7 separate regions of the Homo sapiens genome follow, and all the other regions are linked to region 1. Evidence: promoter capture Hi-C in 16 types of primary human blood cells and fetal thymus (Javierre and others, 2016). All regions are on one chromosome and are shown on one strand. Each heading gives the region's core, a stretch centred on a gene start or on the middle of the fragment in contact. The rest is flanking DNA. Distances are from core to core; before and after follow the strand shown. Region 1 holds the start of SPIRE1 (spire type actin nucleation factor 1). Region 2 has its middle 21 kb from the start of TUBB6. Region 3 has its middle 1.8 kb from the start of TUBB6. Region 4 overlaps TUBB6 (tubulin beta 6 class V). Region 5 overlaps AFG3L2 (AFG3 like matrix AAA peptidase subunit 2). Region 6 overlaps AFG3L2 (AFG3 like matrix AAA peptidase subunit 2). Region 7 has its middle 22 kb from the start of SEH1L.

What was found. The method cuts DNA at HindIII sites, captures the fragments that hold promoters and counts their contacts. A CHiCAGO score of 5 or more calls a contact.
Region 2: a contact is called between a fragment that was not itself captured here and the fragment with the promoter of SPIRE1 in region 1, in 1 of 17 cell types (erythroblasts). The highest score is 6.0, in erythroblasts.
Region 3: a fragment that was not itself captured here is called in contact with the fragment with the promoter of SPIRE1 in region 1 in 1 of 17 cell types (monocytes); the score reaches 5.7 in monocytes.
Region 4: a contact is called between a fragment that was not itself captured here and the fragment with the promoter of SPIRE1 in region 1, in 12 of 17 cell types (monocytes, erythroblasts, megakaryocytes and 9 more). The highest score is 13.7, in monocytes.
Region 5: a contact is called between a fragment that was not itself captured here and the fragment with the promoter of SPIRE1 in region 1, in 4 of 17 cell types (M2 macrophages, erythroblasts, M0 macrophages and 1 more). The highest score is 6.4, in M2 macrophages.
Region 6: a fragment that was not itself captured here is called in contact with the fragment with the promoter of SPIRE1 in region 1 in 12 of 17 cell types (M1 macrophages, M2 macrophages, M0 macrophages and 9 more); the score reaches 12.5 in M1 macrophages.
Region 7: a fragment that was not itself captured here is called in contact with the fragment with the promoter of SPIRE1 in region 1 in 1 of 17 cell types (M0 macrophages); the score reaches 6.0 in M0 macrophages.

What each region holds. Positions count from the first base shown.
Region 1 is chr18:12,656,614-12,659,459 of GRCh38, reverse strand. SPIRE1 (spire type actin nucleation factor 1) reads left to right here and starts at 1,353. Exons shown (of 17, transcript NM_001128626.2): 1 at 1,353-1,930. The coding sequence starts at 1,594. It also overlaps a transcript of PSMG2 not described here. RefSeq lists silencers at 894-1,043, 1,094-1,163, 1,166-1,334, 1,204-1,623, 1,814-1,933. The HindIII fragment of the contact is 7,532 bases long and covers 1-2,846 here.
Region 2 is chr18:12,285,979-12,288,824 of GRCh38, reverse strand. No RefSeq gene overlaps it. Among named protein-coding and RNA genes, the nearest start is that of TUBB6, 21 kb to the left of the region's middle. RefSeq lists enhancers at 1-801, 802-1,797. The HindIII fragment of the contact is 2,754 bases long and covers 1-2,747 here.
Region 3 is chr18:12,305,027-12,307,872 of GRCh38, reverse strand. It overlaps a transcript of TUBB6 not described here. Among named protein-coding and RNA genes, the nearest start is that of TUBB6, 1.8 kb to the left of the region's middle. RefSeq lists a silencer at 1-146. The HindIII fragment of the contact is 285 bases long and covers 1,199-1,483 here.
Region 4 is chr18:12,325,300-12,328,145 of GRCh38, reverse strand. It overlaps TUBB6 (tubulin beta 6 class V), which reads right to left. Exons shown (of 4, transcript NM_032525.3): 4 at 1,530-2,846. The coding sequence ends at 2,016. Among named protein-coding and RNA genes, the nearest start is that of TUBB6, 18 kb to the right of the region's middle. RefSeq lists a silencer at 1-196 and an enhancer at 1-580. The HindIII fragment of the contact is 1,244 bases long and covers 809-2,052 here.
Region 5 is chr18:12,342,371-12,345,216 of GRCh38, reverse strand. AFG3L2 (AFG3 like matrix AAA peptidase subunit 2) reads left to right here. Exons shown (of 17, transcript NM_006796.3): 14 at 970-1,085. It overlaps LOC107985154 (a long non-coding RNA gene), which reads right to left. Exons shown (of 2, transcript XR_002958227.2): 2 at 894-1,168. Among named protein-coding and RNA genes, the nearest start is that of AFG3L2, 33 kb to the left of the region's middle. The HindIII fragment of the contact is 9,965 bases long and covers 1-2,846 here.
Region 6 is chr18:12,364,694-12,367,539 of GRCh38, reverse strand. It overlaps AFG3L2 (AFG3 like matrix AAA peptidase subunit 2), which reads left to right. Exons shown (of 17, transcript NM_006796.3): 4 at 158-264; 5 at 423-575. Among named protein-coding and RNA genes, the nearest start is that of AFG3L2, 11 kb to the left of the region's middle. The HindIII fragment of the contact is 2,906 bases long and covers 1-2,846 here.
Region 7 is chr18:12,924,347-12,927,192 of GRCh38, reverse strand. No RefSeq gene overlaps it. Among named protein-coding and RNA genes, the nearest start is that of SEH1L, 22 kb to the left of the region's middle. The HindIII fragment of the contact is 1,826 bases long and covers 429-2,254 here.

The DNA of each region.
Region 1 (2,846 bases), core at 104-2,603:
CCTGACCTCAGTGATCTGCCCGCCTCAGCCTCCCAAAGTGCTGGGATTACAGGCCTAAGCCACTGCGCACGGCCCTCTTTCAATTTCTTAATTTTCCTTTTCGTCCTGTTGCTTTTCTCCCTCCTCCCCATTCCCAGCTGTATGTAAGATGGTATCTCATTTTAATAGACTGTTGTTATTTAAATAGACTGTTGTAGTTTCTACCGCAAGATGCAATTGTTGAGAGCGTGATTTCTAACATTTTACATAAAACTGCCGTAAAAGGTTTACTGGAACTTAATATACATTGCCTATTTGGTTGATGCTTTCAACACTCTGTAGGGCTTTCACACAGGACTAGCCTCAGTGGAATTTTATCGATTAAATTAATCTACCAATGGGTGATTAAGAATTATCTGTTTTATTGCATATTTAATAGGTTGGGGGGGCGGAATTCTTTCTTTCTACGGCTAATTGCCCTCAGTTCAATTTTACCACTGTGATATTCATTCCACATGCTCTGATGAGTGTGGTACTTGAGACATTACCTTAGTGAGGGAAGGGACCAATGTTACAAATGAATCCGGAAGGACGCTAAAACTAACACCTGCAAATTATGTACATGTTTATATTCCAGGCGCTGGTTTAGCTTTTGGGAGAAGTCAGTGAGGAAAACCCGTAAAGATCCCCGTCTTTACGGTGCTTACCCTGAAGATGGGAGTGGAGAGGGAGGTATTCAACCAGCAAGAAATCGGAAAACGCGCAGAGCGGCCGCGGGGTCACGGGAAACTGCCGGAGGCTTTCAGGGCCCAGGGCCCGGCGGGGAGGCTTCAGCGGGCCTGCATTTTCTTAGGCATCCGCTCCAGGCGGGTTCAAGTTTTCAACCAGACCTTCGGCGATCCAGCGCCTAGGGAACGTCAATGCGGGTGACTTCTCCCGCTGTGCAGGGCGGTGACCCGGGTTGGCGCGCCCAGTTCCCCGCCAGAGTCGGCCGGGGACTTCCCTGATAAATGCGACACCCTCTTGCCCCTGCGCCCCCCGACCGCGCGCCCGGCCCCGCGTGTCCCCCACGCCCCACAACCCTGCACGCCCTACCCGGCCGCGCATCCCCTCCGGACCGTGCGTCGCCGCCCTCACCATTGCGCCCCCAGCTGTGTGTCCCTTGCGACCGGGCCCCCCGACCGGGCGTCACCGCCTGCGACTCTGAGAGCCCTGCGGGCTAGAGACCGTGCGGCCATCTCGCCTCGAGGCGAGGCCCTCCTGCCTGGTCCTCACCTCCAGAGCGTGCATCCCCCGGCCCGTGCGGCCCCCTAAGGGGCGGGCGCTGGGCGGCGCTGGACGGCGCGAGGCGGGGCGGGGCGGGGCGGGGCGCCGGACGCCATCGCGTCGCTACCGGCCGGCGGCTGTCTGACCGGGACTGCAGCCGTGTCCTCGCCGCCCTCCTCTTGCCCACGCCTCCCGGGCACTCGCCTGGTCCCGGCGGCGGCGCGCGCGGCCGCGTTGGGCGGCGGCGGTTCCGGGGATGGTGAGGCGGCGGCGCGCGACGACGATGCTCCGGAGCTGAGGAGACGCCGGCACACGGCGCGACTGCCGAGCGCAGCGCCCACCCGCGGGATGGCTCAGGCGGCTGGCCCGGCGGGCGGCGGGGAGCCGCGGACTGAGGCAGTGGGCGGCGAGGGGCCGCGGGAGCCCGGGGCAGCCGGCGGCGCGGCCGGGGGCTCCCGGGACGCGCTGAGCCTGGAGGAGATCCTGCGGCTGTACAACCAGCCCATCAACGAGGAGCAGGCGTGGGCCGTGTGCTACCAGTGCTGCGGTTCCCTGCGCGCCGCCGCCCGCCGCCGCCAGCCCCGCCACCGTGTGCGCTCGGCCGCGCAGATCCGCGTCTGGAGGGACGGCGCCGTCACCCTGGCGCCCGCGGCCGACGACGCGGGAGAGCCGCCCCCAGTTGCGGGTGAGGCCGCCGGGCCCCTTTCCCTCGTAGTTCTTGGAACACCCGCGGCTGGGCCGCCTTACCCTCAGCGTCCCCGGCCCTTCCGCCCCCGCCGTCCCCCCCCATTTTGCCACGGGAGACCCCCGGGAGGATCCGGCGGGGACCCGCAGGGGAGGACGGCGTCAGGCCGTGGCTGGCCGGGGCCCCTCGGAGGTCAGAGCCTCGTGGCGGGCGACGGCGCAAATCCGCTGTGCGGAGGACGTTTGGGTGGGCCTGGGCCTGCGGGCCGCGGGGCGCTCGTCATTGTGCTGCCCGCGGGACAGCTGCCCGCGGCGCGTTTGGGAGCGGTGGGCTGGGCCCTGCTCCGGGCCAGCGGCCTGTGCGCCTCACGCCGTGGCTGCTGACACACGGCCGGGTTCACGGGGTGGGGAGGGCATCGCAGGCTTCACGCGGGGGCTCCGCACGGATCCTCAGTGCCGCTGTCGGAAACACCGCACTCCTCACGGGAAACTAGCAGTATTCCACATTAGACAGCCTTTCCTCGGTTCGGAAATGTAAAGATGATTCTGAACCGTGAGAATTCTGCTCTTTGGGGAGAAATGGAAAAATAGACTAAATAGTGATTTTTGGCTCCTGGACGTTAGAAAATACTGATTGCATTCCTGTATGTGAAAATTTGTTGTGATGAAAAACAGGCTTGTAAAGTGAAAAGTTGACAGGATGTCGGGATACAAAGAGAAAATGGGCCTTAGTTACGTCATTGTCTAATGTAAAATTTTCAGGATTATGACCTAAACAGTAATTTATAGCCAGGGTTTACTCAGATGCTCATTGAAGAGGAGGAGGAGGTTGAGAAAAGGTTTCTCCCATCAGTTTTTATCTAATTCATTCTTTTGAGAGGCAAGTCTATTAAAAACATAGAAAAACAATCTACCCT
Region 2 (2,846 bases), core at 121-2,620, 370 kb after region 1:
CAGGAGGCACCCAGAATATTATGAGAGGAGGACCCAGAATATTATGACTGGAATAAGGAAAAATTGAATAATGCACGCCTTAGCAAAGTGGCTCTCTCTAGGCTTTTCTCAGAGTTTAACATATTATAAATTAGAATGGCATTAAAAAATAGAATCAGAATGGTTTGCACCTGATTATGATCGGCCAGGTGTTTGCCTGGATTCCATTCCTAGTCAGTCCCCGCCGGTCTAGTTAGGAACCGAGCTTTGTAGCGAGTCCTAGGCTTGGTCTTGCGTGCTCCTTGGAAGGAAGGGTGGTGGTGGGCAGGGAGGTGGATGGCTGGGTCCCCCGGGCCTTTCTCTTGGACAAGGCTGCAGCTCGTCCTCTCTCAGGCTCCAGGGCGGGGAGGGCACCTTCTTTAGCTAACAGCCTTGCTGGGAAAGTTACTGTGATCATGTAGGTAAAAACGCATTGTCAACCGCAAACTTCCAGACGAAAGTCCTGTGAAATTCTTATCGTCTGTTCTGGACAGTGGCGCGAGGGCTATTTGGAGAGTTGAACTCAGTGTGAGCCCAGCACGCCCCGCCCCAGCTGTCTCAGCTGCACCCAGGAATCCTGCGGTGGCCACTCCCCGCTCCAGCTGGCCCCGTGATGCAGAAAACATTTTTCCCCACCCATCCCAGCAACGCTCACCCTTCCTTACTAAGTCACATTTGTGCCTGACTCCCAAGAATACGCTTCACGCCCACGCATGGAATCAAGGGGGAAACCAGCAGATCCGCGCTGTGTCCCTTGCCTGGCCCGGGCACCTCTCGCGACCGCAGTCCTGTCCAGGGCGGACATCGTTCACGTTCTTACAGATGAGGGTGCCGAGTCTGGGAGAGGCCAAGAGACGTGCCCGGGCGCACATTTGGCCCCCAGCTGCTTACAGTAGAAACGGGGCCCCGGAGCTCCGCTGGGTATCTGCTCGGCAGGGCGCCCCCGCCTGCAGCTGCAGCGGACTCGGTCAGAACCTGATTCAACGGGAGGAACCACGTTGTCCAAAGCTCATTCCTGGGAGGGGAGTTCTGCCCAGGCAGACAGGGGGTCACCAGGCTTTCCTTGTCGGATGAGATTTTTCTCCCTGGGCGACCCCCACCATCCTCGCCTCCTCACCTGGCCTCTGCTGGGAGGAGCGGCTGGGTCGGCAGCTTGGGCTGGCCACTGCCTTTACCTGAGCGCCTGCGCCTGGGTCAGCCTGGCAGGCAGCAGCAGGCCAAGGAATGCCCCTGCAGGGAGGTGCGACCGGACAGCTGACGCCCGCCCTGCCTGTGCCGGCTGTTCCGAGGACGCCGGAATGTGGAGTGGGGACCCCGAGAGGGAGTACGCCTCTGCACCATCACTCGGGGGAGCGTGGGGAGCCCGCGTCCTTCACCTCCAGGGCAGGCGGAGGTCTGGGCGCAGGGCGGGCGGGAGCACGGTGCATAGCCTGACACCGCTCATTCGGGCTGAGCTGGCGCAGCTCACCTGGCTGCCAGCACCGACGCCGCATGAGCGCTCTGCGGCCACCTGCATCCAAAGAAAGCCTCGACGGCTTGCCATAGGGAAGCCCTGCGGGTCTTGAGCTCACCTTGAGGAAGCCCTGAGCAGTCAGGAGGCCGTGCCCTCCGGAAACCCTGGCAGCCCTGGTCGTCCAAGTGACAGTCTCCAGAGCTGTGGTTAAAGGAAGGGCTTGGCCGGGATCATGCCTGTCATCTAGCACTTTGGGAGGCCGAGGTAGGAGGATTACTTGAGGCCAGGAGTTCAAGACCAGCTGAGGCCAGGAGTTCAAGACCAGCCTGGGCATCACAGTGAGATCCCCATCTCTGAAATATATACATTTAAAAGAAGAGCTTCATTCACAGTTCCCTGGGAGGGAGGAAGCATTTAAAAAAAATCAATCAATTGGCCGGGCGCGGTTGCTCCTGCCTGTAATCCCAGCACTTCAGGAGGCCGAGGTGGGTGAATCACCTGAAGTCAGGAGTTTGAGATCAGCCTGGCCAACATGGTGAAACCCCATCTCTACTAAAAATACAAAAATTAACCAGGCCTGGTGGCAGGTGCCTGTAATCCCAGCTACTTGGGAGGCTGAGGCATGAGAATCGCTTGAACCCGGGAGGCGGAGGTTGCAGTGAGCCGAGATCACGCCCCTGTACTCCATACCACTGCACTCCAGCCTGGGGGATAGAGCGAGACTCTGTCTCAAAAAAAAAAAAAAAAGAAAAGAAAAGAAATCAATCAATAAAACCCTTTTCATTATAGAACATTAAAAACATACCCAAATCAGAGACTAATGAAAGCCCATGTATCCATCACCCAACTTCATCTGAAACAGATCTTAACAACTGTGCCTGTTTCTTAAAGAAAAGAAACAAAAAGGTGTATTAGTATCTGAGTTATAGTAAATGTTTTCATTCACTCTTTTCAGGAAAAAATGGGCAAATAAATGGTCAAACCTTTTGAAGATACTGTATTGAACTACTCTTAGCCCTTTCTTTCTCCTTAGTGTGAAAATTAAAGGGTGTACTTCCCAAGCATCTGTGCTTGCTATATGCCCAGCCCCATCCAGGCTCCAAGCTCTTTATTTTTATTTTTATTTAGAGATGGGGGTTTTGCTATGTTGCCTAGGCTGGCCTCCATCTCCTGGGCTCAAGTGATCCTCCCACTTCAGCTTCCCTAGTAGCTGAGACTACAAGTGCTTGCCACCACGTCCGGCCCCATTTAAAAATTAGAGTGAATATGCAAAGCTTGAAATAGACAATTTGGCAGGTGCAGTGATTCACACCTGTAATCCCAGCACTCTGGGAGGCTGAGGCAGATGGATCACCTGAGGTCAGAAGTTTGAGAC
Region 3 (2,846 bases), core at 92-2,591, 350 kb after region 1:
GCCCAGTCCAGCCAAGCCGGGACACTGCCCTGGGGTTCGGCGGTGGAGCTTTTCAGGGTCTCTGCCCCCTGCCCCCCACCCCCCGGTCGCACCCCGGGCACACGTTCTTAGGGCCTCTTCGTCCTGGTGTTTCCGTCTCCGGAGATACAGAGGCCATTCCTCTCCGACGACTCCCACCCCTTTGGAACCGGGTTTAGCTAAAGTGACTACAGGGCTGGATCCGAAAATGAACACCTCCTGCGCCGGGTCTATGCAGCCTACTCCTCGCGCGTTAGCGAAGAAATGCGCTTCGGCCTGGGAGGGCGCGCCAGAGTCCGTCTTCCTGGCCAGTTTTGTGTGGTGGAAAGGAATGACTGCTGATGCCGGCCGGGTGACTTGGATTTTAATTCTAGCTGTTTTCAGTTAGCTCTGCGCTTCAGCGGACTCCTCTGTTAACGGAAAAGGTTATCCTAGGGGAGCCTTTCAGCCTCCAAAATGCGGGATGCTCTGGCCTCTGCAGTCAGAATGTGCATGCATCAGGGCTTTTGCGGAAGTTTCCTCACGTGAACGCTGCAGGCTGGGACCACCGGGGTAGCCTCTGCGTCCCCTCCCAGGCCCGTAGAAACGCCGCACATGAGGAAGCGACGATGTTCTGTAATTTGCACTGGCACTTTCTTTTTAGACAGATGAAAACTTTGGGAAATTCCTAATTGTGTGTGTGCATGTTTGTACGTTTGGAAGGGAGTGGAGAACTTTTAAAAGTTTTTCTTCTGGAGTTTTGCAAATGTTTCCAAATTGAGGAATTTTTTTTTTTAACCCTTGGGTCCCCGCCTCCCCACTGCTCTCTCCACCCCAGTGCTGCTCCTCGGCCTTCTTGTGGGTCCCCACACCTCTTTACACAGCCACACGCCCAGGGAGCAGATGAGGAGGCCACAGCCCAGCCCCTGCGCTCCCATTTCAAACTATGAGCCTGAGATTAATCAGCCACCTTCTCCTGAGTCCTCAACACCCTTATTTAGGCTGTTTGTTTCCATTGCTTAATTATTGACTCCAACGAGTGCTACCTTAACCCATCCTGCCGGCCCGAAGTCTAGTGTGGGGAGCCCGAGAGCGGAGGGCCTGTGCCATCCCTGGAAGAACCCTTCCTCCAGCTTTAGTCTCTCTCTCTAAGAAATCCAGCCATCAAGTGGTTTAAAAGAAAGTGTCTACTTTAGAAGCTTTGGTCGTTTGCTGAAATAGCCACCCTTTCAGTGCTAGCCCTTGGGCTGGAATTTAAGTCCAGGGGTCTGATCGAGCCAGAAAGTAGGTGTCAGCGTGGCTTCCGGAAGTCCGTTGTCACTTGGATTTGACAAGGGACAAGCCGACCTGCTGGTTTCTGGGCTCCTGCTCGCTGTGCGCTCTGCGCTGTCTGCAGGGATTGGTGCCCGCGGAGTGCGCTTTGTCTGGAGAAACTCAGTGCTCGAAGAGTGAGGAGACCGGGAGGAAACCTTCCCCCTGCAAAGCTTATCTCCCTTCCCTCTCATCAGAGGCGGGGCCCCGCAAGACACAAGGGATTTCCCCGCAGAATGAACCAAGGCCTCCCCAGGACATGGGGACAGTTCTGCTGTGCAAAGCCTGAATTCACGTTTCTTTCCTAAAGTGGCTCCCAGTCTCTCTGCAGCCTTGGCCTCTCTTTGAATCCCAACCCTGACTTCCCTGGTGTCTGTTGGCCACTCCCTTCTGGGAGCCGGCAGGTGAAACCCTGACCTGTGAGCCCGGCCTGGGGCTCTCCAGGCTCTGGGCCCCCTACCCTCCCGATCTGTGGCCCTCACTCCTCCTGGGCGAGGCTGTTTGTGACGCGGTGTGTCCAAATGCACACAAGCCGCAAACCAAACTTAAAAAAGCGTAGAGGACACATTCTCTTCTCCTACCTTAAAAAATACACCATGGTATCTGGAAAGCCAGGTTCCAGTTTAGAATTCTCAGGCTAGGCCGGGCACAGTGGTTCACGCCTGTAATCCCAAAACTTCCAAAGCTGACATGGCAGGATTGCTTGAGCCCAGGACCTCGAGACCAGCCTGGGCATTATAGTGAGACCCTTGTCTCTACAAAAAGTTAAAAAATTAGCCAGGCATGGTGGTACATGCCTGTACCCAGCTACTCCAGAGTCTGAGGTGGGAGGATTGATTGCTTGAACCTGGGAGGTGGAGGTTGCTGTGAGCTGTGATCATGTCACTGCACTCCAGCCAGGGTGACAGAGTGAGACCGCGTCTCAATAAAAATAAAATAAAATAAAATAAAAAAGAAATCGGTAGACTTCTTGGGCTCCTCGTTGATTTGCATCAGGGCGTGGAAGTGCGGGGGCTGGTCTCAGCCTGCAGTCCTCACTTTCAACACCCGCCTTTCTCCCCACCTCCAATTCTGTCCCACGCCGAGATGGGTCTCCAGTACATGCCTGTGGACACTTCAGTCCTCAGCCACTCACAGCCATCCCAGGCCACCCTGCGGGAAGAAGGGGCCCTAGGAGTAGGTTTGGGGAGGTCTGGGCAGGGACTCCTGAGGTCCGGGGGGCTGAGGTGCCATCTAGGAGCTGTGGGCTCATCCCAGTGGCCCTGTAGGGAGGGGGCAGGCAAGGACAAGGCCCCTCACCTGGGTCGAAGGCAGTGATGGCGTTCATGACTTGGTGCTCTGGGCGAGCCACATTACCCGTGCACTCCTGTCTGCTCACTTTCCTCCTCCTCTTGCCCGTCTCTTCTGTGCCTTAGATCACAGTCTTGCTTCTCTGAACGCCTCCTTCTGTTTCATGCATGTGTAGAGAGGATTCCGGGCTCACTGCCCAGATTTGAATGCTGGTGTTTACACACACCTGGACCGTAGGAGATGGCTGA
Region 4 (2,846 bases), core at 181-2,680, 330 kb after region 1:
CCGTGGAAGCAGCTGTTTGGACTCCACAGCTCAGCATGCCAGGAGAACAGGCGCCCCCTGCTGGACCTTTGCACCTGCAGGCATTGCCACACTGGCCACTTCCTTTCCTCATAGGGTGTTTTTGGGAGGTGCCCAATGAAGCATTGTTTCCAGGCTGAGGCTCACACAGTTGTGAGGGTGCTGGGTGTGCTTTTTACCATACAGGCAGTAGACGATTAGGAGACGCTCTCTACTCCTTATCCAACCACTGCAAGGCATGGAGCCAGCGTGGGCTGCCCTCTCACAGGCCTTGGCTGTGAGACCTCCCGGGGGACGAGAGTGGGGCCCACTGTCTGTCAGGCTTGATACAGTAAGAGTGACAAAGCCAGATAGCACCGACAACACCCATGTTTCTGGTGAGGTGAGCAACCTTAAGCTCTGGGCCCTGGATGGCTGCTCAACCTGTGCAAGTGGCCCTCTGTGCTAGGAGCAACCGTGGCTCCCTGTGCCACCATCTTGTGGGGCCTGCTCATGCATAGATCTTTCCACGGTCACACAGAACATGTTTTCAGGACAGATGTGGGTGGTGAGCTGGTAAGATTTATTTTTACTGTGGTCTCAGAATAGTTCAGATTTCTGCAAAAAGATCTGTGATCACCTCAAGCCATGCTGCTGTGTTTAGTGATGAACTTTCCATCTGCCCAAGGCTGGGGCTTAACACAAAATAAATACAGCTAGTCAATGTAAGGCCTGGGATCACAGACCAAGGGTGGTGTTGTGGTTGTACTGTGGGGAACCCTAACCCTAAGTGGTCCCGAATGACAAAGCTTTGTCTGTCTCTTATTCCCTGTCCAACACAGGTCAGAGTGGGCTCTGCCCAGGATGGTCACTCAGGAACCTGGACGGGTGGACAGGAGGGATCGGGGGGGCTGCCCACGTGGGAGGCAGAGCAGGAGGGCTGGCACTGGCACATGACGCTTCCACTCGGGGGTGACACACTATGCCCATTCTTATGGCTAGAGCAAGTCCCACGTTCACAGCTTCAAGAGGGCAGGAAGAAGTAAAGCAAAAATATTGTCAACAGTGAGGTCTGTACCAGGCACTAGCAGGGCTACTGTGCGTGCCCCGTGGAGTTTATCTTTGGAAACTCCAAAGGTGTGGCCGGTGGTAGAAGCCATCAGGTGTGATGGGTCACAGCAGAAAAGGGCCCATCCCTTCCATGCAGGGCTGGCTGTTGGCACCCCAGCTCCCACCCAGCACCCCTGGCTTTGTCCGGAGGCCTTTTGGGGCTGTTTGTTCCCCTACAAGGTTGGGGAACCCTAGCCCAGGACCTGACTTGGGAAAATGCAAGATCCTGTGGGAGTCTAAAAGGTGGCTGCGGATGGAGGAGGGGCTTTTGTCTGTACTGCATTGCCTTCCAGCTAGCAACAGTTTTGGCTGCCCCCCTTAAAGCCTCCATTTAAAGAAGAGCCCTTTCCTCTGTTGTTTTCGTGAACTGAAGTGGGGAGGAGTTCACCCCAGGGAGAGACCAGTGACCCAAGTAGCCATTGTAACCATACAAAGTAACTTACGTCATTTATGCACATGGCTAGAGAGATGAAGACACACGTTTAGTATTTTATTATGAATCATTATTTCAAAGTCCCATACTGCATATTCATATAAGGCAACACGGCACAATTTCAGGCTTCATCACAAAGGATGAAAAAGACTGTTTCTAACTCCCTCCTAATTTGCAGACATGCTTGAACACTTAATGGAAGGTGAAGTTTATTTTGTGGCCCCTCAGTTCTCTTTCAAGTCCTCTAGTAGAAAGTCTCCATGGTGTGATCTTCTGACTGGGTAGAACCCGCAATTCTCTGCTGTTTTTAGTCTTTGTTCCAGATGACTAATTACATGACTTGGCTGCATTTGTGAGGGGCCGACACCAACACAATTAAACCAGTGCACCATTCAGGGCCATAGGGTAGGAGGCACCAGGGTTCAAGAAGGAACTTGCGTGTTGTAGGATCTGAGTTGGGGCGGCTCTATTCCGACTATCCATCGATCTCCTCTTCCTCATCCTCAAAAGCTTCCTCCCCGTCATTGGCGGTGGCATCCTGGTACTGCTGGTACTCGGATACCAGGTCGTTCATGTTGCTCTCCGCCTCGGTGAACTCCATTTCATCCATGCCCTCACCCGTGAACCAGTGCAGGAAGGCCTTGCGCCGGAACATGGCTGAGAACTGCTCGGAGATGCGCTTGAACAGCTCCTGGATGGCCGTGCTGTTGCCGATGAAGGTGGAGGCCATCTTCAGGCCGCGGGGCGGGATGTCGCACACGGCCACCTTCACGTTGTTGGGAATCCACTCCACGAAGTAGCTGCTGTTCTTACTCTGGATGGCCAGCATCTGCTCGTCCACCTCCTTCATGGACATGGGCCCGCGGAACACGGTGGCCACGGTCAGGTAGCGGCCATGGCGCGGATCGCAGGCGGCCATCATGTTCCTGGCGTCGAACATCTGCTGGGTGAGCTCGGGCACGGTCAGGGCCCGGTACTGCTGGCTGCCGCGGCTGGTGAGCGGCGCGAAGCCAGGCATGAAGAAGTGCAGGCGCGGGAAGGGCACCATGTTCACCGCCAGCTTGCGCAGGTCAGCATTGAGCTGGCCCGGGAAGCGCAGCGAGGTGGTGACCCCACTCATGGTGGCGGACACCAGGTGGTTGAGGTCCCCGTAGGTGGGCGTTGTCAGCTTCAGAGTGCGGAAGCAGATGTCATAGAGCGCCTCGTTGTCGATGCAGTAGGTCTCGTCTGTATTCTCCACCAGCTGGTGCACCGACAGTGTGGCATTGTAGGGCTCCACCACCGTGTCCGACACCTTGGGCGAGGG
Region 5 (2,846 bases), core at 109-2,608, 310 kb after region 1:
CCCTGTGTCGCTGGGGTTTGCCCTCTGGGTCTGCTCTGCCACTTCTGTGGCTTGCTCTGAGCCATAGGGCCGGCTGGTTAGGTGAGGGTGCGCCAGCATCAGCCTGGCTGGCTCCACCTAGGTAGCTCCGGGTGTTGAACTGGCTGCCTGCTTTCTCAGACTCTCTTCTGCCTTCCAGCAGAACAGACAGCAGGTAGTGTCTTATGGCAGCCATCTTCGCGTGCCCAGTATTTGATAATTCTGAATACCTAGACTATGCAATGAGGACCTTTCCAGAGTTTTGGTTTCTGTAATTTTGCGTGTTTTAAAATGACCTTAATGCTGAATTTTATTTTACATTTCTATTTGTTTCCCAAAACACAGGGTGTGTGGCTTAAAAGTGAGAGAGTTAGGGTGAAAGCAGGCCTGGGGATGGGGGAGTGAGTGCATTTTTGCTGTAGTTGTATTTTGAACCTGACCTTTTGCTTTTATTCTGACCTTGATTGGGAATTCTATTTAATTTTTTAAAAAAATTTTTAACTTAATTTAATTTTTTTTTTTTTTGAGACGGATTCTTACTCTGTAGCCCAGGCTGGAGTGCAGCGGCATGATCTCAGTTCACTGCAACCTCCGCCTCCTGGGTTCAAGTGATTCTCCTGCCCCAGCCTCCCTAGCAGCTGGGAGTACAGGCGCTCACCACGACGCCTGGCTAATTTTGTATTTTTAGTAGAGACGGGGTTTCACCATGTTGGCCAGGCTGGTCTCGAACTCCTCACCTCAAGTGATTGGACCACCTCAGCCTCCCAAAGTGCTGGGATTACAGGCATGAGCCACTGCGCCTGGCCTTGATTAGGAATTTTTGGATTGTGATAGGCAGCTCAGTCTCCAAACCCCATTTTAGGTAAGGCAATGTATAGCACTGTATAACTGTCTTTTAATGTCAGTGTCACTGTAACAATGGCTTGGGTTTTTTTGTTGTTATTTTGTTAGGCTTAGAGAAGAAAACGCAGGTTCTGCAGCCTGAGGAGAAGAAGACTGTGGCATACCACGAAGCAGGCCATGCGGTTGCCGGCTGGTATCTGGAGCACGCAGACCCGCTTTTAAAGGTGAAGCAGGGTAGCTGCACTAGGCAGCCAGTGCATGGGTGAGCAGATGCTCGCTGCAGTCACTCAAGAAGCAAGCTACACTCCTGCAAAGGAGAAAGAAACAAGGCTTTAGCCAAAACTTCTGGTAACTTCTGGTAACCATAGTTGCACAAACCGTCCCATAGATAAATATAAAATTTGGACAGAAAATTATTTAAAGGGACCACAGAGTGTCCAAAAGCAGGCGAGAGCTGGAGAGTTTGCTCCTATAAAGCAGCAGTTGCAGTGGGTTTGAACTGGGAGCCTGTGGCTTTCTTGCCAAAGGGTTTTTCATAATCTCCACACTACAGTGGTATGAGACATAGTCTTTATTATCCTGAGGTGGTAGAGGAGATAGTCCAGGACTTAAAGAATACTGGAAATTTAACAGGAAAATCCCAGAAGCAAGAAAACTACCAAGTGGTGAGGCCCGAATCTGAGCAGGAACTGCCCAAATCTCAGGCCGACAACTAAACTACACATGCACAGTGGCAATCCCAGAGAACCTGGCAAAAGGGTAAGCAGAGACCAAAGAGAAATCTACCCCTGAAAGACGGGGGAACCATGTGAGATTTTTAAGTTTTTTGCTTTTCAACTGAGGCATTTCCCGAACTGCTGCAGCACAGATGACAGAAAGCAGCTGCCTCCCTGCCTTGCGATGGGTATCAGGGCTGCTGGGAATTGAGGCGGGCCAGGGGTGTGGGGGTCCCCTGAAGCAAGGGAACCATAGAGAAGACAACATTAGAGTGTCCATAAAACATCCTAAGGAACCCACAGAGAACCCACTAGAACTAATAAGTAAAGTTAGCAAGGTTGAAGAATTCAAGGTCAGTATACAAAGACCAATTGTATTTCTGTGTATTAGCAATAAACAATTGGAAAATGAAATTTTAAAAATTCAATTTCATTAGCAATTTCAGTAGCATCTAAAAACTCGAAATATGGAGGAATAAATTTAAGAAAATATTTGTAGGACATGCACATTGATAACAAGCCCTAAATAAAAATAGAGGTGGACTTTGCTCATGGAGTGTTACATCAGTTCTCCCAAAACTAATTGATAATTTCAGTGCAATCTCTGGTAATTATAGCAGATTTTTTTTTTTTGTGGAAATTGAGAAGCTGAATCTAAAACCGATATGGAAATACAAATGAGTAAGAGTAGCCAAAACAGTAAGTTACTCATCCCAGTATTAAGACTGTGCAGCTACAGTGATGAGAGTGTAGTGCTGGTAAGAGGACTGGCACGCAGGCCAGTGGGGTGGAATGGAGCCCGGAAAGTGAACCACAAACTTTTGGTTCACAGAGGTACCAGGATAATTCAAGGGGGAGGAATTGTCTTATCTACAGGTGGTTCTGGCAACAGAGTATTCACAGGAAAAATGGTGAACGTTAACCCTTGCATCATATGCAAAAAATTATTTGAAACAGGTCATAAGAACTAAAACCATCAAACTTCTAGGAGAAAATACAGGGAAAAATCTCTGTGGCCTTGACCATGCAAAAATTTCTTGGGACACAAAAAGCATGAGCCACAAAAGAAAACGTTGATAGGTGGGATCTCATCAAAATTTCAAACTCTCTTTCTTTGAAAGACAGTTAAGAAAATAAAAAGGCAAGCCACGCCCTCCAAAAATACATGCAGTACATATACAGGACAAAGGACTTATTTCTAGAACCTGTAAAGAACTCTTAGAACTCAATAATAAGAAAACAACCCAGTAAAACAATGGGCGAAAGATT
Region 6 (2,846 bases), core at 202-2,701, 290 kb after region 1:
GTATTTGTATTCTTTCTCATAGTGCTTCACTTAGTAACTGATCAGTTGCCACAGTGTATTCTGCAATGAGTCTTTTATTAAACCGTATACATGAAGACATTGCTGAGAGAGCTAAAACCTTGCCGTGCTTCTGTGTGTGCTCTTTGTTTATGAACAGAATCAAAGCCAGCTGCTACCACACGCTCTTCTGGAGGAGGAGGTGGTGGCGGTGGAAAACGAGGTGGCAAGAAAGATGATTCTCACTGGTGGTCCAGGTTTCAGAAGGTTTGATGCTATACATTGTGTGAATTTTGAGGTTATGATGGTGGCCCAGAGAAGGTTGGGAGGCATTAGTGTAGTGTTGGAGGGATTTGTGTCTCACAGAGCATAGATCGTATTGTGGAATTTCATTCTTCACAGAAGCTGTCTCCCTCTCTGCCCAGGGTGACATTCCATGGGACGACAAGGATTTCAGGATGTTCTTCCTCTGGACTGCTCTGTTCTGGGGTGGAGTCATGTTTTACTTGCTGCTCAAGAGATCCGGGAGAGAAATCACTTGGAAGGACTTTGTCAATAACTATCTTTCAAAAGGAGTAGTAAGTATTTTATGGGATTGGTGGCTGTTGTGGTTCAAAGGTGAAATTCATCAGATTAGACCAAAGAAGTGACAGTCAGCAGGTTAACCTGGCTCGTCCATTGTAAAATTGTTATTTTCACTCAGATTTTTCTAATGCTGAGAAGTACTGCAACTAGAGAACCCGTGTTTTGACCTGGTGTCCTCAAATTTACCCACAAATTCTTTTATTTCACTACCTCCCAGAACTGGGTTTTGGAACCACTGCTTCTGACCATGGTCTTGGCAGTCCTCTGCTTGCGCCCTTTTCTCACGTGCCCTCAGCTGCCCCTGCTCTGTGCTGTCGTGTGCCAGCCTCTGCCCCTGCTCTGTGCTATCATGTGCCAGCGTCTGCCCCTGCTTTGTGCTGTTGTGTGCCAGCCTCTTTGGGCCCTCTGTGGGTCTTTACTACATTTAGTCACCTGTGGGCGTGGCAGCTAATCAGCGTGTGTTGTCAGAGCAGATGGGGCTCTAAGGGAGGGCCAAGTGGGTGCGTGGTCCCTGCCATTTCTCTGTCTGCGGAGCAGCCTTTGTTACTGTCTGCTGGGCTTGCCCATGTGTGACTATATTCACCACAACCAATGGGAAATAAGTAAGACCATATTTCAGCATATTTAAGATGCTATTGATTGTAAGACACATGGTATTTTATAAGTTGCTAAGACAAATCTAATAAGATGCTGATGAAATTATGACATGCCATCAATTGTAAAATGGATCTCCATTTCTGATGTTAAAATATGAAAAATGTGTGTCTTAGAATTGATGCAGTGGCCGGGCGTAGTGGGTCACGCCTGTAATCCCAGCACTTTGGGAGGCCGAGGCGGGTGAATCACGAGGTCAGGAGATTGAGACCATCCTGGCTAACATGGTGAAACCCCCGAATCTACTAAAAAATACAAAAAATTAGCCGGGTGTGGTGGCACGTGCCTGTAGTCCCAGCTATTTGGGAGTCTGAGGCAGGAGAATGGCGTGAACCCGGGAGGCGGAGCTTGCAGTGAGCCGAGATTGCACCACTGCACTCCAGCCTGGGCGACAGAGCGAGACTCCATCTCAAAAAAAAAAAAAAAAAAAAAGAATTGATGCAGTGTAGTGATAGACACCAGAATTAGGCCTGCTGTGTAGCCTTGGGGAAACCCCTTAACCTCTTAATACTTGGGTTTTCATCCATGAAATGGATAAAGTAAGACGACATGAATACTTACTGAGGTAGTGTAAAGAATTTGAATTCGTTCTGAAGGTTGTGCAGGAAGGTAAGGATGTAAGAAATGGTTATCTACTCAAATGAGCAGCTGCTACTGTGCTAAGAGCTGAAGTTGACTGAGATTAACTTCAGTTTATGTTTCCCCTGGAAGTTGGAAACCTTCAGTGGACTCCAGAATTCCAAAATGCTTACATCGGACAGATCCTGCCTGTACCATTGTCCTGTGCGTAGGGAGATGGGTTCCTGGTGCTTCCTTATGCCACCATCTTCCAGAGTCCTTTTATCTAGTTGGATTTTTGAAACATGTTTATCTTATGAAAGTGAGGATCTTATATGTGTAATTCTCAGATGTAGTGGGGACTCCCACTCAGAAGCTGCTCAGAAGCAGTGGTCATTGCGTGTGGACTGGGCTGCAGCCGTCCTTCTGATTGGGATGGCAGGTCCTCGAGGTGGCTTCTCCATAGCTGCAGCTCCTCCTGACCCTCTGGCTCTTTGGCATTAGTCTGCTGTCTCCCCAGCGGGTGTCTGTGGGGTGGAGCAGTGCCAGTCATTCCTCTCTGACAGAGACTGCCTTTAAGAACAGTTGCTCCCCGATTCCAGCCCCTCTGGGATTGCTCTGGGGCTCCTTTGCTTTTTGTTTGTCATTCTTGCCTTCCAGACTTGCTGACAAAGCAAGCAGTTAGAAATAAGCACATCCCAGAGCGCTCATGCTCCTAAACCAGTTACAGTCCTTGGGATGTGGTGTTTTAACAGTGTTACTAAGAATCCTATGTAGGCTGGCCGTGGTGGCTCACACCTGTAATCTGTGCACTTTGGGAGGCTGAGGTGGGAGGATCACTTGAATCTAGGAGTTCGAGACCAGCCTGGGGAATGTAGGGAGACCCCATCTCTACAAAGAAATGTAAAAAAATTGGCCATCTGTGGTGGCTTGCATTCTTAGTCCCAGCTACTCAGGAAGCTGAGGTGGGAGGATCTCTTGTGCCCAGAGAAGTTGAGGCTGCAGTGAGCTATGATTGTACCACTGCACTCCAGCCTGAGTGAAATCCTGTC
Region 7 (2,846 bases), core at 92-2,591, 270 kb before region 1:
CCAGGGCTTCTCAAACTGCAGCTCACTTCTACAGCTCACCTGGGGGTCTTGTTAAAATGCAGATTCTCACACATAGGTCTTGGATGGGACCAAGTGCTTCTTTTTCTGATAAGCTTCAGGTAGTGCTGATACTGATCCATGGATCGTATTTTGAGTGGCCAGGCACTACACCACGCTCCATTTTAATCAATCAACTAGCCGTAGGCCTCATTATTCAATAGTTGCCATTATACACAGCTGACTGCTGAACAAAAATCACCTCCAGGTTGCCTTTCAGCTAGGTATCACCTTCCAAGGGTAAGTCCCACTGATGAGCCAAACTGCAGCTTTGTTTTCCTTAGATGTGCTCCCCTTTTCCTAGGAATGTCTAGGGGAGACAGAGCCAAAGACTGCATCCAGGTGAACAAAGGTCCTTTCACCAGGAAGCTTCCTACCCTAATGTTCTTCAAGGGAGGTGACTGGAGAAATGGTTGTGAGTCAGCCTTTTCCTCACGGGAGTTCTGTCTTGGAAGAAAGATAAATAATATAGAAAATGTGGCTTATAACCTGGGAGCCAAGTGCTTTTGTGGACGGTCAATTACCACTCTTGTTCTGGAATCTGTCTGCAAATGTGTATGTGTGCTGCTGCCACAATAGACAGCGATTCACAAAACACAAACAGTGAAATGGCATAAGGTTTCTCTAACGGCGGCGGACACAGAAACATGTCCACCCCGAGAAGGCTACACAGGGGAGGAAGAAGTGTGGCATTTCTAGCTGGACATGCAGGTCCCTGGGTTCCCCAAATCCTCCCAGGCATATGCAGCTGCCAATCTCCCTGCCAGAAGAGCATATTGTCAGGCATATGAACACACCCTTTGGCACTCTGAGGGGCTTTACCCTGTCTTGTGCACTCCTGCCTGTTCTGAGGACCATGCCCCAGGAGCAAACATGCAAAACAGCAGACCCTTTAACTGCCCACTGCCTGTGAGATGAGTTGGACCATTCCAAGCTGTTGGGCGAGAGCCAGAGCAGATCATCTGAGTCCCTGCAGACCTGGCCCAACTGCATGTATCCCAGCAGCGGGGTGTGTGTCTATCTCCTTTTTCTTTTCTTTTTTCTTTTTAAGACAGAGTCTCCCTCTGTTGCCCAGGCTGGAGTGCAGTGGCATGATCTTGGCTCATTGGAGCCTCTGCCTCCCAGGTTCAAGCAATTCTCCCACCTTAGTCTCCCAAATAGCTGGGATTACAGGCGTGCACCACCAGGACTAGCTAATTTTTGTATTTTTAGTAGAGACGGGGTTTCTCCATGTTGGTCAGGCTGGTCTTGAACTCCTGACCTCAAGTGATCCGTCCCCCCCTCAGCCTCCCAAAGTGATGGGATTACAGGCATGAGCCACTGCGCCCAGCCTGTCTCTACTTTTTTTTTTTTTGAAACAGAGTCTTGCTCTGTCGTCCAGGCTGGAGTGCAATGGCACAATCTTGGCTGACTGCAAGCTCCGCCTCCCAGGTTCACGCCATTCTCCTGCCTCAGTCTCCCGAGTAGCTGGGACTACAGGTGCCTGCCACCACGCCTGGCTAATTTTTTTGTATTTTTTTCAGTAGAGACCGGGTTTCACCGTGTTAGCCAGGATGGTCTCCATCTCCTGACCTCGTGATCTGCCTGCCTTGGCTTCCCAAAGTGCTGGGATTACAGGCCTGAGCCACCGCGCCCGGCCCAGCCTGTCTCTTTTTAATTCTAATTTCTTTGGCACTTCTCTCTCTCTCCTACCTTCCTCCTTTGAGGCTCATCCTCCCCTGTCATTTGTCCAGACCAGAATGCTGCTCCCGCATGTCTTGCCCTAGGCCATGTCTCCTGACACATTTGGCTACTCTTTGGTATCTAGAAACACTCTCAAGGGGCTGGGGTGGATGGAGAGCTGAGGAGGCAGGTTAGGGCTTAGGGGTCTGAACAGGGCTGACCATTAGCTGGGAAGTCCCGGTTCAGCTTACTGGTGGGCATCTCTTCTGATTCATCAGTGCCCTCACTGTCCTGGCCCTTACATATTTTGAATATCTCCTCTAGGTTTGGGGACACAGAAGAAGGGCAAGCAGTTCCTGTGCTGAACTAGGAAGAGCCATGCTGAGCACAGGATTTGCAGGCAGCACTGTGTCCTCAGACCCTCCCGTAGCAGGGTGCCCTGTCTCCCCCGTGCCTCCACAACTATGTCTATGCTGCATGGAAAAGGGCACCTTCAGCTCCTGAGTGCAACAGAGAGATGGGAACAAACCAAGCTTAGCACAAGAAGGGCCAGGGCAGCTAAACTTAGCTAATTGAACGTTCAAGTTTTGGGAGAAAGATTGTGGAATCTGGGCTTCTTTCCCTTTGGCCCGTCTTTAGAACAGGAGGATGCTCTTTATTCAGTCCCCCGAGGTTTTCCTGCATCGAGCTCTTGAATTCAACAAGAATAGCACTAGGCCGTAGAGAATAATTTGCCAGGCAATTATTAAGTGTTTTCCGAAAGTGATGTTGCTTTGCAAAATGTTTTAAAATAAATTGAATGTGCATTTCCACTTAGAGATGAAGAGAAGCATATCACTTGGCTTCATTTAATAATGATTTAGATGATGGTAAGAAGAGCAAGTAAATTCAAATTAGATTATTGATTTTCATGATTATAAATTAGAATCCAACAAAAATAAATGACAGATATTTTTCTATATGAATACATTTTAATTCTTAGAAAGTTGCATGAAAAATATATATTAGCCACTCTATGTGATGAATGGATACGCTGACATTGGTATTTATAAAGTCCTGTAGAGTCCAGCCCTTCACAATGAATTATCATACAGGCATTTTTCTCAGTGACGCTGGAGGACAACGTA